Linked DNA regions of Homo sapiens: region 2 is linked to region 1. The links are contacts of gene promoters, found by promoter capture Hi-C in blood cells and fetal thymus (Javierre and others, 2016). All regions are on one chromosome and are shown on one strand. The core of a region is centred on a gene start or on the middle of the fragment in contact, and the rest is flanking DNA. Distances in the headings are between cores, read along the strand shown.

Region 1 (4,775 bases), core at 2,056-4,555:
GAAGGGAAGCCTCAGAGATGACCCATCCCCTCAGTCGACGGTACATCAGACCTGGAAGGGATCTTTAAAAAGATCCAGTCAACCCACTTATTTCAATGCTATTCAAAAAAAAAAAGAGAGAGAGAGATTAAAGAGAAAAAAAGAGAGACAAAGAATCTCCAAGATCCATCAAGCCCCATCTAACTTATTTCTAGCCAGTATTTAACATAATAAAATTCCAGAAGAAAGTCTTTGATGTGATATCAATTGTTTCCAGCTGAGCAATGTGTTGTATACTGTGTCTAAGGCTTGACTGGCTGCCTTAAATTTTAATATATCTAGGATTTCATTTTCCCCATCAAATGTTTACCATCCCCTTAAACACTTTTTGTCCCTTCCTTTTCTTGACAAACCACTGCTGCCTTATTTTGCATTTGCCACGCCTTTTTTGGGCTTCGCATGTGAAAGCACTTTGAAAATTTTAACATACCATATTATTATTTAAATGCTTGCTCATTTTCCATCTGTAATCTTGCAATTTAACTCACTCCTGGGTTAGTGACATGTATTTCCATTAAGTGGAATCACATCTTTCACTTGGTTAAACCACATTCCAAAGCCTTCCCATTAATTAATTAGAACAAAATCCACATTTTTGACCTTGGCCCTACAGATCGGCCTCTCCTGCTTTCTGACTTTCTCTCACACTGCTCCCCTTGCCTACTAGGTCTCAGCACTCCTTGCCTTTTTGTTTCTGAAACAAACTAAGTTCATTTCCAGCTGAAATCCTTACACCTGCTTGTCTCCTCACCTGGAATGTTCTTTACCTACCTTTGAGTTCCTCCTCCTTCACCATTCAATTCTCTGCTCAAAAAGGCCTTCCCTGCCAGGCACGGTGGCTCATGCCTGTAATCCTAGCACTTTGGGAGGCTGAGGTTGGCGGACTGCCTGAGCTCAGGAGTTTGAGACCAGGGTGGGTAGCATGGTGAAACTCCGTCTCTACTAAAAATACAAAAAAATTAGCCAGGCCTGGTGGCGCCCGCTTATAATCCCAGCTACTTGGGAGGCTGAGGCAGGAGAATTGCTTGAACCCAGGAGGTGAAGGTTGCAGTGAGCCGAGATCACGCCACTGCACTCCAGCCTGGGTGACAAAGCGAGACTCTGTCTCAAAAAAAAAAAAAAAAAAAAAAAAAAAGGCCTTCCCTCACTACCACTCTGTATACAATAACCACCTTCTACTCCCATCCTCTCACCCCATTTTATTTTCTCCAGAGCATGATTTGAAATTGTCACTTGCTTATCTGTTTAATCTGTTCCCTGCTTTGGTTACCATGTCCCCAGCAGCTCAAACAGTGTGGTAGGCACTCAGATGTTACTGGCTTCTCAATGAACATTTGTTGACTAAATGAAGTGCAATGAGAAGGATGAAGGCAAAAGTATATACTTATCCTAGCACTTAACAGGAGCAGGGGGCCTCACCGCCTCAGCAAAAATCCAAATTAGCCATTTAAGACTTTAAGTTTGCAAGAATGTACGCAAGAATGTACTCATTTAGTCAGCCAATACTGACTGAACACCTACAACGTTTAATACACATCTGGGTGGCTGGGCGTGGTGGCTCACACCTATAATCCTGGCACTTCGGGAGGCCAAGGCAGGCGGATTGCCTGAGGCCAGAGTTTGAGACCAGCCTGGGCAGCATGGAACCTGGTCTCCACTGAAAATACAAAAAAATTAGCCAGGCATGGTGGCGTGGGCCTGTAGTCTCAGCTACTTGGGAGGCTGAGGCATGAGAATCGCTTGAACCCGGAGGGGTGGAGGTTGCAGTGAGCCACTGCATTCCAGCCTGGGCGACATACACTGTCTCAAAAAATAATAATAAATAAATATATATATGTATATAAATAAATGTGTATATATATGTGTGTGTGTGTATATATATATATATATATATATATATATATATATATATACACACACACATACACACACACCCCTGGGTATTGTGTTAAAACCTGCTGCTTGCCTCTGAGGTATTTTTAGACTAGATGGAGGGTGAGAGATGTGCATAATCAAAACATATGGAGAAATGGTTAAGTGCCACACAAAATGTGTATGGCAATTCAGACGCTGGACTGAGCAGTTGTCACTGGGAGAAGAAGCCTTAAAGGGTAAGTGAAGTTAAGACTGGCCTGGAAGAGTGAGAACTGGCATTCCAGGCAGATTGAACAACACACATAACACAAAACAAGCAGTCCAGACCTGTTGATTTTCTGGACTGGACTTCAATATGCTAGAGTAGATGTAGTGTGTAGGAAAATCAAGTCTGGGAAGGCAGGTAGGGCCCAAATTGTGAGGGGTCTTAAACAGTAGGTAGTGAGGAACTACCCATTTTGTTGTGAAAACTGTTCCTATTTATTTGTTTCCTTCCGAAGGGACGCATAGTCATATTAGTCTCATTCGGGGTCTGTGGCTGTTCTAAGGACGCTGCCAAGTTCTGGTTAGCAAGGAAAGCACCGTGCACGCCATCTGAGACGACAGTAACCTTCCTTACCTTAGACCATTCGGTGGTATCCACCCAGTAGAAGGTGATTTTTCGGGCGACCATGACTTCCCGGACTCTCTTGGGCAACAACTTCTCCATCACCTGCTTAGGGGTGGGCGGCAGGCGCTGGGCCTGGGCCTCGCACCCAGACACGAACTGCAGCAGCTCCCTCTGCGAGTGCGGACAGGGGGCCAGGAGGAAGACGGCGTTCACCAAGCCCCCGAGCGCGGCCTCGGCCTCCTTGGCCTCGCTCTCCACGTCCAGCAGTCTCCTCCCGCTGCTCCGCAGGATCGGCTTCGTGGGCGACGTGATCTCGGGCCGGTCCCACTGGTAGTCTAGCAGCGTCTCCATCAGGGCGCCGTGCGTGTGGGTGGCCCTGGGCGCCGGGCCGGGCAGGTGGGCGCGATCCTCGAGCCTGGCCTCCAGCTCCTCCTCAAAGTCCTCCCACGAGCGGGACCCCAGCTCGCGGAAGTCAGACACGCGGGACGGCCGGCTCCGCGCCCCCTGCGAGTCAAAGAACTTGAAGGCCCAGTGGACCCTGGCCAGGCCGAATCGGCAACTCAGATAGGTGAGGAGGCGCAGGGCGGCCCGCCGGACCCGGCTGTGGCGGGCGGCGCCGCCCGCGGTGTCCAGCAGCAGCATTACTTTGTGACAGCATGCCATATCGGCCGTGCCGCCGCCCCGGGGCCCCGGTCCGGGCCCGCGCCACCGTCCCTTAGTCCCTTCCTTCAGGGAAACAGCACCACTCACTGCTTTCCTTTGGGACCCTGGTCGAAAGGCTCCCGCGCTCTCCAGGAACTGCTGCTATTGGGGGAGCTAGTTTCCAAGGTTTGCTCCTATTGGCTGCTTGCCTTACGTAAGTTACGAGAGCAACTTCCATTTTTGGCGGTGATTGGAGGGGCAGTGGAGAAAACTTCAGTCTGATTGGTGGAGGGAGTGACGGTGGGCGGGTCTCTGTGGTCCGAGAGAAGCTTAGCATTCATTGGCCTGGGCCTTCGTTTTAAATTTTAAAGAGGTGGTGCCTCGGGGGCGTGTCGAGAAGTTTCGCCATTGGAAAGAGGCCAGCGTTTGTGCGCAGTCGTGAGTGCGGACTGCGGGGCCACGTTTCCCAAGACCGAGGAAAACTTAGTGCCGGGAGGGAATTTGGGATGGTTTGAATCGAACTTGTTGAAATCCCTGTGGACCGCCTAGGAAGTAGAATCTGACGACTACGGCTTTTTCTGTAATTTAAAAAATTTTATTAAAAATTAAAGGTTCACTCCCTTTGCCCCAGTAACTTCTAGGAGTTTATCTGCAGAAGGTAATCGGAGAGCCAGATAAAAGACGTCTGTACATCTTAGAGTTTATTTAACATCAGAAAAAATGGAAACAGTTTGGGAATGGTTAAATAAGGTATGGTACACGCCCAAGGGGAGCATCGTGCAGCTCCTTTTTTTTTTTTTTTTTTTTTTTTTTTTTTTTTGAAACGGAGTCTCGCTCTGTCTCCTAGGCTGGAGTGCATTGACACGATCTTGGCTCACTGCAACCTCCACCTCCCGGGTTCAAGCGATCCTCCTGCCTCAGCCTCCTGAATAGGACTACAGGCGCACGCCACCACCCCAGACTAATTTTTGTATTTTTAGTAAAGACGGAGTTTCACCATGTTGGCCAGGCTGGTCTCAAACTCCTGACCTTGTGATCCACCCGACTTGGCCTCCCAAAGTGCTGGGATTACAGGCGTGAGCCACCAAGCCCGGCCTAGTGCAGCTTCTTAAAATAGTGTTTTATTATGTAATGTTAGGTTTTAAAAGTGGACTGCAAGCAGCACCTGCAGTGAATTCCCTAAATTTTCTATCTACATGTATATATAGATAGAAATCACATGTAGATTTGCATTACAGATAGAAATTATATATCGCTATATAGATAGAATACATAGAATTATATATAGATAGGCCGGGCACGGTGGCTCACGCCTGTAATCCCAGCACTTTGGGAGGCCGAGGCGGGCGAATCACCAGGTCAGGAGATCGAGACCATCCTGGCTAACACAGTGAAACCCTGTCTCTACTAAAAAAAAAAAAACAAAACAAAAAAAAAAGGAATTATATATAGATAGATAATCATAGATAGAAGTTATATATAGATAGAAATGCATTTATATGCATATTTTTAAACTGTTAATATAATATTGTGTACCGGAAGTTGTCTGTGATGGTCTCTCCATGTGATTTTTTTTGAAACTTTTTTACACTTCCTCTTGCTGGACACC
Region 2 (4,487 bases), core at 97-2,596, 2.3 Mb before region 1:
AAACCACCCCACACCCCATCTCTACCAAAAAAAAAAATAAGAAAACTAGCCAGGCTTGGTGGTATGTGCCGGTAGTCCCAGCTACTTGGGAGGTTGAGGTGGGAGGATCATTTCAGCCTGGGACGTCAAGCTGTGATCCTGCCACTGCACTCCAACCTGGATGATAGAGCAAGACCCTGTCTCAAAATAACAACAACAACAAAAGTGGGGCTTATGGCAGCCTATGTTACTTTTTGCTTTTAAATATTTTCAATGTGTGTTGATTAGGAGGAATAAGTGCAACTATTGTCTAAGTTCAGGAAAGTACTAATGACCAACTATTCCGTGTTTAAAGAGGAATGCCCAGTCATATGGGAAATAACGAGGCTGTTAACACCGTTTCTACTAAACAATCGAGCTGCTAAGTCCTCAGTAAGGGCTTCCCTTTTCAGAGGCACTCGACTCAAAACCACAAAGAAGAACCGAAATAAAGAAGTTGGGAGTCACCAACTGCTGAGGTTCTGTGTACATCCAAGGGAATGTTTCCAGTCTCTGTGTTGTCACTGGAACTCATGGATGAAGGCTCCCCTGGCTTGCTCACTCCACACCTGTGGCTGCACAAGATTCAGTGCTTTACACACAATTCCTCCCTCGGCAAAGTCATCAGAGTGACCCGGCTTTGGGGCTCTGAGGTCTTCTGAGCACAGACTCTCTCCTGAAGCCTGTGGCATTTGAAGGTGAATCTAAAAACTCACCTAAAACATACACTGCCACCTGATTCACTGAGAAAGGCCCAATTCCTTCTCTATCCTTCGCAAGGACAGGTGTGACCAGACTGGGGGCGGGAAGGCTGCTTCTAAGACTACAGATGGAACGGGAGTGGTGTTGTGCAGAAGGTATGTCCGTAAGCCGAGATGGATGAATCCATGGGATGGGAAACCAGGTTGCAGGAACAGGTCCATTGTTCTGCTTATGAGAAACCAAAAAAAAAGACCAAGCGTGGGGAAATGCCCACAGACCTGCTTGCCAGAGTCCACTTAATACTGCAAGAGAACACGAGGTGAAGGCAGCAGACAAGACGTGAGACCTGAGCCCCTCTGGGCAACCAAGGCTGAGCTCTGCGAAGGCACGTTTTAAACAAGGCTGCCTGGAGGGCAGCATATGTCCACAACATATGTCCCTTTGTCCTCGCCCTCCTGACACCTCGGGCTCCCTTGAATTGGTCACTCAGCCTTTCAGCCAGTGAAGCAGAGCAAGCTTCAGGAGCCCAGATCACCAGTTTAGGAAACAGAAGCCTTGGCCTCACACAATATTCCAAATCCTCAGCTCCCTGGGAGGGACTTTTGTTGGTGCTAATGTCAACGAGCAGGGTTATACCATTACTGTTAAAGCAACTGTGGAATACTGTACCCTATGAGAAGTACTCTATCACATGACTATTTGTTTAAACCTCACAACCATCTGTAAGATAAGCTTGATCATTATCCCCATTTTTCAGATGAGGCTATTGAGGCTCGAGTAAGTGAAGTTGCCAGGAGCTGGGAAATAGCAAGTCTAAGTTCAAATCCAGGTCTTCCAACTCCAAGTCCAACATTCTTTCCACCTACCCTCAGCCTTCAGCACCCAGTGGCCACAGACCACAGCAAGAGATACTGAGGACCTCCCAAAGTGAAGCATCAGGGTACCTGCCCCGCCCAGCCAGTCCTGCCTGCCCTGCTTTAACCTCCTTCAAGTACCCATGGACTGTAAATGATCAACATGAATCACCATTCCTGCAGTGGGCTCCTCTCCCATGTGACTAATTTTTATAGCATCTTTAAGATGAAATGGATTGCTATATTTATAAGGGAATAAACAGAATTAGCAACTGATATTTAGCTTATTACTTGCCCTTAAAAACTTTTTACCTCCCAGACAAAAATGTCCATGTAGAATAGGAAACTACTTGAATATGCAATTCACTAAACCAAAACTAAAGTTTAATTGAAATAATTTTATTTCTCATTGGTTGGGGCTACACGGTTATTATGTTTGCAGTAAATATGCATAACCATATTATTATTAATAGTAATAGCTAATATTTCCTGGGCACTCACTATGTGCCAGATATTGTTCAAGGTGCTTTACATGTACTGACTCAGTTCATCCTCACAGCAAAACAGAGGGTAGGTACTATTATAACCCCAGTTATAAAATGAAAAATTGAGGTACACAGAGATTAAGTAAACAGCTCAAGGTCACAGAGCAGGTAAGGGGAGGACATAGGCATGAATCCCAGTCTTCTAACACTCATCGAATAAGCGACAGCTGCCACAGACACTTGCCTTTCTCCACCTTGGAACTGTAATCATTTAACTTGGAGTTTTAACCATTAAGCAATAATTTGTCTCATGCTAACACATAAACACTTAGGCTACATAAAATACAAGTGTCTTTGAATCACATCAATTCATTTATCCTATGAGCCAAGGTCCATGATTCCACTGTTTTTCCTGTTTATATCTGTTTTCCAGATACAGACATAGAAACCGAAAATAAAAATGAATTGAAAGAGTAAGGATGCTATCTTTCTGGCCTACAGATTACCAAAGGCATTTCCGAGAGGCAAGAAAATACCGAGATTTTCTTCAGGGGAGAACGGTTCCAAATCCATGTGTCAACCATACAGTCAAAGTTACCATTGAAATGTCCCTTCGCACCTTCAAAAAGTATGGCATACAATATTCATTGTATGCAACGCTGTACACAAACACGTATGTAAATATGCAATGCATGCGGCAATGTACAGAATAGAGTACATATGCAGAAGAGAAGTACTTTGACTCCACTTTAGAGAAACATGCTTATTAAATGATGCATGTAGTGAAATCTGCGCGAGTTGGAACTAAAGCCAGAGAAATGCAGCTAGTAGGGAGTTTTATTCTTCACTCTTTCTGCATGAAATGCAGCTGTATCCTCATCATTTTTGCAATACTACCCTTGTTCATCCAGGCCAATCTGCTAAGAGAATACAGTCCCTGATCAAGGCAGCACCTCAAAGTTTGCTTTTAGGTGTGCAAAATAAATTCACAGAGACCCTGTTGGTGGGGCTGCCTTTGCCCAGCAGTTCACCAATGACTTCGTGCAAGAAGCAGCCCATGCAGCATAACAGAAAACACGATTCCAGCAGCACCCAAGATGAGCTGCAAATGCTGGGCAATTGATTAGCAAGGCGGTGCCACTGCAGAGAGGCCTCTTGGCGATCCTTTTCATAAGGTGTCTAAAATTGAATGAGGGGAAGAGTTAACAAAATGCAGGATAGAGCCCTCGCTCATTTTACAACTCATTCAGTTTCTTCTATTGTTAAATACACCAACAAAAACCCCCTCACAAACAAAGATAAATACACAAACCTGGCTGAAAAGAATTTTCAGAAACACCTTTTTCCCTTAATAATTATTAACATTTTGAATCTAGCTATAAGGAAAAAAAAAATCAAGGTAATTTTATTTCTTACTACCTGGGGCTACATAGTAATTATGGAAATGGCAAGGAATTTTGTCACTTTGAGTAAGCATAAGTGTATAAAATAATTTGATTAAATAAAATACGGTTACCTTAGTCATCATAGTAATTTGACAAGGACTTTAAAAATGTCTCTCTCTGTTGAAAATGTCAACAGACAGTTTCCTGAGCTGTCTGCTTCTGGGTTGAATATGCAGAAACTCATCTTCGAAATGATGTTTCTTTAGAAAAAAAAAAGGAGTAACAAACCTAGCAGTTTCGCCTCACCCATTAATTGCAAGCCCACTTGACTATTCTCAGGCTGAAAGAAAAAGTGTGACTACAAAGCAGTGAGATAGAGCCTCATTAACCACACTCAGTCATCTATGTCATTATTTTGTCACCACAACCTCAAACTTATTTTTCTATAACTCTAAATAGGGAAATACCTACCCCTTGTTCACAGGAACTCCCTTTGTGCCCCACCCAGGAAACTAGACTGGCCTTTTTTCAGTTTTCAACCTGAGGAAATTCAAATGTATTTGTATGTATGCCTCAAACTAATCATCTAGAAGTGTCAGAGGCTTTAATTTCCTGTACACACCCTTATCTACTCCAGTCCTCAGTAATTTGATACCACACAGAAACCTCTATATGCAGGGCTACCCTCAGCGAGTGGCTTAAAACATTTTAGGGGGTCTCTGCAAAACACCAATAGGCACACACAAAATGACTTTCTCCCCATGCAGTTCTCATATGCCTGCATCTTCTCCAACCAGTCCAAGACTTAAGCACATGTTACATCCTTGCAAACAGGACTGGAGCCACTCGAAGCCAAAACCCAAGTAGAAGAAAATTAAATTGCATTCTCTGTTCCATACAAAATGACTATCAAACCGAGCAGGCCTCTCCTCTTATGCTGCAAAAATTATGTCATAGCCAGTCAGGAGGTTTAGGTGACTATGATGGAACATCCCTGTGACTATTGGTTTATCTGAAGCATGGTTTCCAGTTAAGATGTTTGT

The links. Contacts are between HindIII fragments. The CHiCAGO score rates a contact against its expected background, and 5 or more counts as called.
Region 2: a contact is called between a fragment that was not itself captured here and the fragment with the promoter of TICRR in region 1, in 1 of 17 cell types (naive CD4 T cells). The highest score is 5.2, in naive CD4 T cells.

The regions. Positions count from the first base shown.
Region 1 is chr15:89,573,999-89,578,773 of GRCh38, reverse strand. TICRR (TOPBP1 interacting checkpoint and replication regulator) reads right to left here and starts at 3,305. Exons shown (of 22, transcript NM_152259.4): 1 at 2,534-3,305. The coding sequence starts at 3,187. RefSeq lists an enhancer at 2,378-2,906 and a silencer at 3,028-3,317. The HindIII fragment of the contact is 7,754 bases long and covers 1-3,497 here.
Region 2 is chr15:91,857,349-91,861,835 of GRCh38, reverse strand. The region is part of intron 1 of SLCO3A1 (solute carrier organic anion transporter family member 3A1); the gene reads right to left. Among named protein-coding and RNA genes, the nearest start is that of SLCO3A1, 5.9 kb to the right of the region's middle. The HindIII fragment of the contact is 216 bases long and covers 1,239-1,454 here.